3 separate regions of the Homo sapiens genome follow, and regions 1 and 2 are each linked to region 3. Evidence: promoter capture Hi-C in human tissues and cell types (Jung and others, 2019). All regions are on one chromosome and are shown on one strand. Each heading gives the region's core, a stretch centred on a gene start or on the middle of the fragment in contact. The rest is flanking DNA. Distances are from core to core; before and after follow the strand shown.

Region 1 (2,700 bases), core at 108-2,607, 400 kb before region 3:
TGTATTTTACTGTGCCCAGCCCTCATGAAGCAGCTTCTCTATAATCTCTATAGTCAGGGCCTAGGAACCTGCATTTTAACAAGCACCATATCGGATTCTGTATACCACTCTTTGAGAGCCACTCCTTTGAATGCTAGAACATGGGAATGGCAGGATAAGAGTAGCAAGGCACTCGGTGGCCCTACCAACCTACCAAGGCTTCAGGGCACAGGAAAAATCCCTAAAATGAGCTGCAATAGCACGTCTGTTCAGTAGCAGCTATAGCTGAGACTGCTGACTTAGAACCCCAAAGAAACATCCCAGTCAAGGAGGTTTAGTTACCTCTCTCCTGAGCCAGTACCTGTGTGAGGGCAAAGGGGTGGGACACATGGCTGACCAAGACCTGCCGCAGTTTCCCATTGAGGTCAGCACTCTCGATCCGGTCCAGATGCGCATCCACCCAGTAGATCCTGCGAAGAAAATGAAAAGAGTGGCTGCTCCAAACGCTTGCCAGGGAGCCCAGCTCTTCCCCCTATGAACCTGTTTGTCCCCTCCTGAGCTGACTGGCAGATGCTATGAGAACTCAAGAAGCACCCTCGATGAGGGGTCATTGTGAGTCCCAAAGCTGAAGAAGGGAGCTGGTGGTTCATGAGTGGGGAGGTCAGGGCTGCTCTGGGGAGGCATAGAAAGTCTAGTGACCTCAGAGGAACCACCACCCAGCCTCATCTTCAGGAATTTGATTGCCCTTTGACTCCTACCCAATAATCAAAGCCCAATTTCTTACAAATGGTCTTTAAGAAGAGAGCTCACTCGGCCGGGCATGGTGGCTCACGCTTGTAATCCCAGCACTTTGGGAGGCCGAGGCGGGGGATCACTTGAGGTCAGGAGTTCGAGATCAGCCTGGCCAACATGGTGAAACCCCGTCTCTGCTAAAATACAAAAATTAGCCAGGCGTGGTGACACGTGCCTGTAATCCTAGCTACTTGGGAGGCTGCGGCACGAGAATGGCTTAAACCCAGGAGGCGGAGGTTGCAGTGAGCCGAGATCGTGCGACTGCACTCCAGCCTGGGCAAAAGAGTTAGACTCTGTCTCAACAACAACAACAAAAAAGGAAGTGAGCCCAGTCTACATGGACCTTGCTGAGGTTAAAAGAAGAAGGCATTCTACCACCTTTCCAGAAGTCTTGGATTCCCTTCCCCTTCTTTTGGATCAGAAGGGGGCACAGACTGCTTTAGAGCCCCTTCCCCCTGCCCTTAGCATTTCTTATCTAGACAAGGAGTTGTACATTCCGGAGCCTGGGTCGGGCGTGGTGGCTCATGCCTGAAATCCCAGCACTTTGGGAAGCCAAGGCAGTAGGATTGCTTGAGTCCAGGAGTTCGAGACCAGCCTGGGCAACATAGCGAGATGCTGTCTCTACAAAAAATTTAGAAATTAGCTGGGCATGGTGGCATGTGCCTATAGTCCCTGCTACTTGAGAGGCTGAGGTAAGAAGATGGCTTGAGCCAGGGAGGTTCAGGCTGCAGAGAGCTGTGACTGCGCCACTGCACTCCAGCCTGGGCAACAGAGCAAGATGCTGTCTCAACAACAACAAAGTTCCAGAGCCTGAAGGGATCAGGATTTGTTATATTATAACAAATATAAGAATCAGCCCTTAAATGAGTAGGGGTGTGAGACCTGTGGTCCAGCCAGAAGACATGCTCTGCCAAAGGCACTCAAATTAGGAACATGTAAACCAGCCAAACAAAACCCACATAAGGGTTGAGGGCTGGATTTAGCAATCGCTGCTCTAAGAATATATTCCCTTATCCTTCTCAATGATTCCTCTTCCCCACATACCAAGAAGCTTTCTATCTTTTCATTTTTCCAAGGTTAATCTCAACCATTCTCTCTTCTGCCCACCCGATTTCCAGGAGGCTGTTTGATGCAAGACTCCCACCTGCGGGTATCATAGTCCAGGGTAAGGCCATTGGGCCAACCCAGGTCTGTGTTGATGAGGACCTTCCGCTCAGAACCATCCAAGTTTGCCCGTTCGATCTTGGCAATGTGGCCCCAGTCTGTCCAGAAGAGGTACCTGAGACACAACAGTGCCATCATCATCAAGGCATGGGAAGACAGCACCCAGAGGTTGAGAGAACACAGAGGACCCACTAACACCATCTTTCCACCCAGCCCTTCTTCCCTGGATCTCTCTTCTGCTGGCCATAAACTTACCCCTTCCTGGGGAAAACAGCAATGGCCCGGGGCTCATCCAGGCTATTGTTGATCAGTACTTTGCGGCAGGAACCATCCAGCCTGGACGCCTCAATGGTATTTCGACCTGTGTCTGTCCAGTACAGGTTCCTGGCCACCCAGTCCACTGCCAGCCCGTCAGTGGTCTTCAGCCCTCGCCCGATCACTGTCTCCATGTTGCTGCCGTTCAGGTCTGCTCGCCTTGGGGAGAGCCCAGTGTTGGATGAGCAACCAGACTGACCCAGAATAGAGTAGAACTTTAACCCATGTTCCCATAACTGGACCCCACTGAACTGTAAGCTCCACAGGGATAGAGACCAGGTATCTATGAGTACATTCCTCAGCACCCAGCATGATAGATGTTCAATAAAATAATTGCAGAATGAAGGAACCAGTTCTTAGGAGGACACAGTATTTCCTGCTAACTGGACATAGTGGCGGTTGCCAGGGGATGTCTTGCTAGAAGACAAGTTTATCATTCCCCACATACCT
Region 2 (2,700 bases), core at 95-2,594, 440 kb before region 3:
CTTTGGGAGGCCAAGGTGGGGGCGGATCACGAGGTCAGGAGATCGAGACCATCCTGGCTAACAGGATGAAACCATGTATCTACTAAAAATACAAAAAAATTAGCCGGGCATGGTGGCGGGTGCCTGTAGTCCCAGCTACTCGGGAGGCTGAGGCAGGAGAATGGCGTGAATCTGGGAGGCGGAGCTTGCAGTGAGCCGAGATCGCGTCACTGCACTCCAGGCTGGGCAACAAAGTGAGAATCAGTCTCAAAAAAGAAAAAAATTGTTAACCATGACTTCTGAGAGTGTGTCTAAGGGTTAAGCAAAGAAATTTTTTTGAAAAAACTTTTACTTTGAACTTTAATACCCATCCATGCCTTCTGATTTTTAATAATGAGCTTCAGCATCTTTTATAATAATGTTTTTGTATTTTTTATATTATTAAATTTTTTTCATTTACTTTTTCTTTATTTAACTCCCGCTTAGATGATAAATAATGCTTTTAAAAGCTTTAAAACTTTAAAATTCCCACTTAGAGGCTTGAAGTTGGATCATCTGCCTATACTCATCCCATAGGCTACACTTCACTCTCTCTCTTAACATTTTTTGTATACATGATATCTCCTTTGAAAGAAGGAACTGAGTCTTATTCATTATCCCAGCATTGCATAGTGCTTTGTGCTCTAGTGTAAAATTTCTAAAATGGCACCATTTCATCAAGTCACAGAAGTCTTTCTGTTTTTTGTTTTTTGAGACAGGGTATTGCTCCATTGCCCAGGCTGGAGTATGGTGGTGCAATAACTGCTCACTCTAGTCTCATCCTCCCAGCCTCATGTGAGCCTCCTGCCTCAGCCTCCTGAGTAGCTAGGACTACTGGGGCATGCACCACCACATCTGTCTAATTTTTAAATTTTTTTGTAGAGACAGGGTCTCACTATGTGGCCCAGGCTGGTCTCGAACTCCCAGGCTCAAGCAGTCCTCCTGCCTCAGCCTCCCAAAGAGTTGATATTACACTTGCGAGCCACCCCACCCAGTCAGAAGTCTTAAATATACAATAAACTTATCCTTTTTTTTTTTTTTTTTTTCTGAGACAGGGTCTTGCTTTGTTACTGAGGCTGGCGTGCAGTAGCAGGAACATGGCTCACTGCAGCCTCGACTTCCGGGGCTCTGGCAAAACTTCTGCCTCAGCATCTCATGTGGCTGGGACCACAGGTGTTTGCCACCATGCCCAACTTTTTTACTTTTTGTAGAGATGGGGTCTCACCACTTGCCCAGGCTGGTTTTGAACTCCTGGACTCAAGTGAACTGCCTGCCTCAGCCTCCCAAAGTGCTGGGATTACAGGCATGAACCACTGCGCCTGGTCTTATAAAGAAAATTTTGTAGAATGTGTATTTCAAATGTGTTGAGAAAACAATATATATTTAATAAAATTCTGAAGTAAACCCTTTTCAAAGTGAAAAAAATCACTCAGTAATATTATTTTGAAATTTTCTAAGATTTTTGCCACTATTTTCCTAGTTAGTTACTTTTTTATTATAAGATCCACTAAAAGAGGGTAATTTCATTTTTAGAATCTTTCACTTTGGCAAAGCCATGGCAGTAAAACAGTTGCTTGAAAGAAATCTTACTGTAGAAAGCTCTACTCTAGATTAAATTTAGTGCAAACCTGGAGTCATGTTGAGCTCTGGAGGTAGACAGATTGAGTTGTAAACCTTGCTCTGCCACAAACCAGCTGATCCTCAGTTTTATCAATCATCATAACAATACCATCTTCATGTTGCTCCCTATTTAACACACACTTCTTGAACACGTATTATGTGCCAGGCACTATCCTAAGCACTTCACATGTATTTACTCATTTAATCCTTAAAACCTTGAAGTTGATATTATTATCCCTATTTAATAATGAGGCAATTGAGGCAAACAGAGTAACTTGCCTAACATGACTCATCTAATCATTGTTGTAAAGATTAAATGAGATTTTGCCTTTTACATGTTAAGAATTCCCTCCATAGCCAGGTGTAGTGGCATGCGCCTGTAGTCTCAGTTACTCAAGAGGCTGAGGTGGGAGGACTGCTTGAACCCAGGAGGTTGAAACTATAGTAAGCCATGATTGAGCCACTGCACTGTGGCCTGGGTGACACAGCAAGAGTTTATCTCAAAAAAAAAAAAATTTTTTTTCCCACAAATATTCACATTATTCTCCTGTCCTGACAACTGTGCTTGTCAGATAGTGTGAGGCTATTCGGTGTTAGATGCTCATCTAGATGCTGAGTATAGGCTGTGCACCACAATAGCCCTGAGGCAAAGTACAATAAGAGAGTATGACGGAGGAATCTAATCTAGACTGGGGCAGCGGGGTTCAGGGAAGGTCTCCCTGTGAAAGTGATACTCAGGCTGAAAACTAAATGAAATTAATAGGGGTTATCCAAGCAAAGGCAAAAAGTAGGGACAACAGAGAATGTTTCAGGCATGTGTGTGGATCTCTAAAAGATGCAGGCAAGAGTAAAGAACAAAAATATGACCCATGTGACCAAATAAGAGAAAGGCTGATTGGAAAGGGTCAAATTAAACAAATCCAGTGGATTTTATGCAAGTAAGTAGTAGTATTAACAGATTTCATGGCAAACACCAAGCACTCAGTAAACCACAGCTATCATTACTATATTATTGTTATTATTATTAATTTTTTTTTTGTTTTGAGACGGAGTCTGGCTCTG
Region 3 (2,700 bases), core at 142-2,641:
GCCTGGTGGCTGCCTCCTAGAAGTGGAACAGACTGAGAAGGGCAAACATTCCTGGGAGCTGGGCAAGGAGATCCTCCCGTGGCATTAAAAGAGAGTCAAAGGGTTGCGAGTTTTGTGGCTACTGAGCAGTGGAGCCCTCGCTAACACTGTGCTGTGTCTGAAGATCATGCTGACCCCACAAACGGATGGGCCTGGGGGCCACTTTGCACAGGGTTCTCCAGAGCCCTGCCCATCCTGCCTCCACCACTTCCTGTTTTTCCCACAGGGCCCCAAGAAAAATTCTCCACTGTCACTCTGTGGTATGGCCATAAATGCCTCAGCGCCGCCTCACTGATAGGTCTGGTACTGTTTGAACAGGAAGATCAAAATGAATACAAAATGAGAGAAACCAATTTCTGGATTGGGGGTGGGGACACGGTAATAGAGGAGGAAGCCTGCGATCTTTAGGATCCGCCTCCAGGCCCAGAGGAGGGAGAGTCACAAATGACAGCCTTGGCCGTGAGAGGGGGCCTCTTCTTACTAACCCCCACTGCGCCATATGGGTAAATGGAATGCTGAGGCTTAGGCGCCCCCTTCCCCTGCTGGGATCCGGGTAGGATCCGGTTGCCTTTCTGCGGTGGAGGAGGAAGTGTTGGATTTCAGCGCTAAGGCGTCGGCGGTGCACCTCACGTGCATGTGTAGCATGCCTTGGTTTTTCCTTTGGCATCTGAAAAAGGCACAACCTGAAAGACCTAGAACCCAGTGTCGGTCCCCAGGCCCTTTGGGACAGGAAGAGAAGAGCCGTGTGGCCGCGGGGAGGATGTCCTGAGGCGGGGCTGTCCTCGCGGACTGACTGGACTCCATCTCCCAGCGGGCGCCGCGGCGCGGCCACGCCCCCCCACTCCCCGCGCGCGCCCGGTGGAGGTAACCGCGGCCGCGCGCCCCCCTCTGCCCCCGCTGCCCAGGATTGGTAGGCTCCACCGCTCGGCAGCCGGCTTCCCTGCTCGGACGCCGAGCACCGCCAAAGCGCGTGAGTGGGGGGTGGGGACTGGGGGATGGGGAGCCCGTCAGGAAGTCTCAGGGGCCGATTATCTTGGGAAGTGACTTTCAGAGGAATCCCCATGTCGTCGAAACGGGCGCTATGACCCCGTCGGGTGAGAGTCTCTCTGAGCAACCCAAACAGAAGGTACTGCTGTGGGTCCCCCACTTGGCACGCGACGGCGCTGGGTCGGCCTGGCGCGCCCTCCCGCGCCCACGGGCGCTAGGCTAGGTCTGTGCGCAGCCGCTGTCTCCCGAGGTCGGCCCCGCCCCGCGGCGCTCGGCTCGGTGCAGCCCCGGCCCCCCGGGCTGAATGGTACGGCCCCGGCCCCGGCCTCCCCCTCCGCACCCCGCGCGAGTGGTGCGTGCCCCCCAGTGCAGACGCGGAACTGGCGCCCGCTCGGAGCGGCGCCGCGCTGGGGAGCGACTGACGCCCCGCTGCCGGGGGACGTCGGGCTGGGCCTGGCCAGTCCCCCAGAGCTTGGGAGGTAGGAGAGTCTGGGCCGGTGGGGTCCTGGGCGAGCGTCTGGGGACTCCGAGCGGGAGACGGGCTCTGAGAGGACACCGTGGCTCTTGGAGGAAGGGGTCTCTCAGGAGGCCCTGGGGGAGTGTGAAGGGGCGTGGGGACGGGGGTCTGCCGAGGAGGGGCGGGGACGGGGATGGGGGCGCCCCGGGCAGAGGAGGGGGCTCAGGCTACTGGGCTTGGTTCCTGCCGAGCGGGCGGCTCGGGTTCAGGTTCGGGGCGGGGGCGGGGGCGGGGGAGAACTGTCCAGCAGGTGAGGGGGCGGGCAGAGCTGGCCAGCCCTGGGGCCGAACCCGCACAGCGCTTGGCGGGTGTGCTTGTGCGTGTGCGTGCTTGCGCCTTATTTTTGGCTAGAATTTGGAGAAACACGTTTGGTTCTCAAGAAATTTTTTTTTTAACTTGATATTTCAAAATTGACTTGCTGGAGAGAGAACACCATTTCATCTTTCTGCAATCGCTCTCCTCCCCATCCTCGTGTATCTACCTTCTTCCACCTTTCCCTGCCCTCCCCTCTACCCCAACCCTGCCAGCTGCCAGCCTCCTTGCTCCAGTTCTCCCATACGCTGGACCAGTCTGTGCTGATGAGCTTGCAAGGTCACTGCCTGGGGAGGTAGAGGAGGGGAGGAGAGCCTCCTGTTGTGTTCACGTCAGCAGAGATGTCATATCGCTCTCTGGTTCCTGTGGTTTTACTGTGAGATCCTGTCCAAAATGAGGGACGAATCCAAAGGGTTGGTTAGCATGGCTATTTCTGCTGAAAAGGCATAGATAACTTAAAAGTTTGTGAATCCTAAATCTACCTCTGGGTGGAGCTGATGGTGATGTCGGACTTCAGCAGATAGATATGCATTTTGAGCTGGATGCTTTTGGAATACAGGAAGATAGGAACCAGAGGCTCTACGTTAGTAAACATGGTTGAGGCAAGAGGCAGAGTCGGAGCCTCGTTGGTTGTGAAGACAAGAGTGTGAGTTGTGGGTGATGTTAGAGGATTTAGTCTTTAGAGGAGTTAAAGGTGTTAGTCTTTTTGGGGAGGGGAGAGAGGAGAGAATGAGAAGGAAAATCTTAGTTATCTTTGCAATCTGAATAACTGAAGGCAGTGGCTGCTGATCAGATGTGAACTCTGGCTAAAAATTTATCCTACCACCCGTAGCTAGAATAATAAC

What was found. The method cuts DNA at HindIII sites, captures the fragments that hold promoters and counts their contacts. A contact is called where the count stands out against the background at its distance.
Region 1: a fragment that was not itself captured here is called in contact with the fragment with the promoter of MADD in region 3 in 1 of the 25 tissues and cell types used here (lymphoblastoid cells).
Region 2: a contact is called between a fragment that was not itself captured here and the fragment with the promoter of MADD in region 3, in 2 of the 25 tissues and cell types used here (IMR-90 fibroblasts and dorsolateral prefrontal cortex).

What each region holds. Positions count from the first base shown.
Region 1 is chr11:46,871,185-46,873,884 of GRCh38, forward strand. It overlaps LRP4 (LDL receptor related protein 4), which reads right to left. Exons shown (of 38, transcript NM_002334.4): 29 at 2,191-2,409; 30 at 1,916-2,050; 31 at 341-449. It overlaps LRP4-AS1 (LRP4 antisense RNA 1), which reads left to right. Exons shown (of 3, transcript NR_038909.1): 3 at 1,890-2,700. Among named protein-coding and RNA genes, the nearest start is that of LRP4-AS1, 26 kb to the left of the region's middle. The HindIII fragment of the contact is 4,299 bases long and covers 1-2,700 here.
Region 2 is chr11:46,830,817-46,833,516 of GRCh38, forward strand. All of the region lies in intron 1 of CKAP5 (cytoskeleton associated protein 5), which reads right to left. Among named protein-coding and RNA genes, the nearest start is that of CKAP5, 14 kb to the right of the region's middle. The HindIII fragment of the contact is 9,291 bases long and covers 1-2,700 here.
Region 3 is chr11:47,268,742-47,271,441 of GRCh38, forward strand. It overlaps MADD (MAP kinase activating death domain), which reads left to right and starts at 1,392. Exons shown (of 37, transcript NM_001376571.1): 1 at 1,392-1,505. It overlaps NR1H3 (nuclear receptor subfamily 1 group H member 3), which reads left to right. Exons shown (of 10, transcript NM_005693.4): 10 at 1-292. It overlaps MADD-AS1 (MADD antisense RNA 1), which reads right to left. Exons shown (of 3, transcript NR_120569.1): 2 at 2,338-2,400; 3 at 1,916-2,239. RefSeq lists enhancers at 574-683, 1,157-1,451 and silencers at 834-943, 1,154-1,683. The HindIII fragment of the contact is 15,703 bases long and covers 1-2,700 here.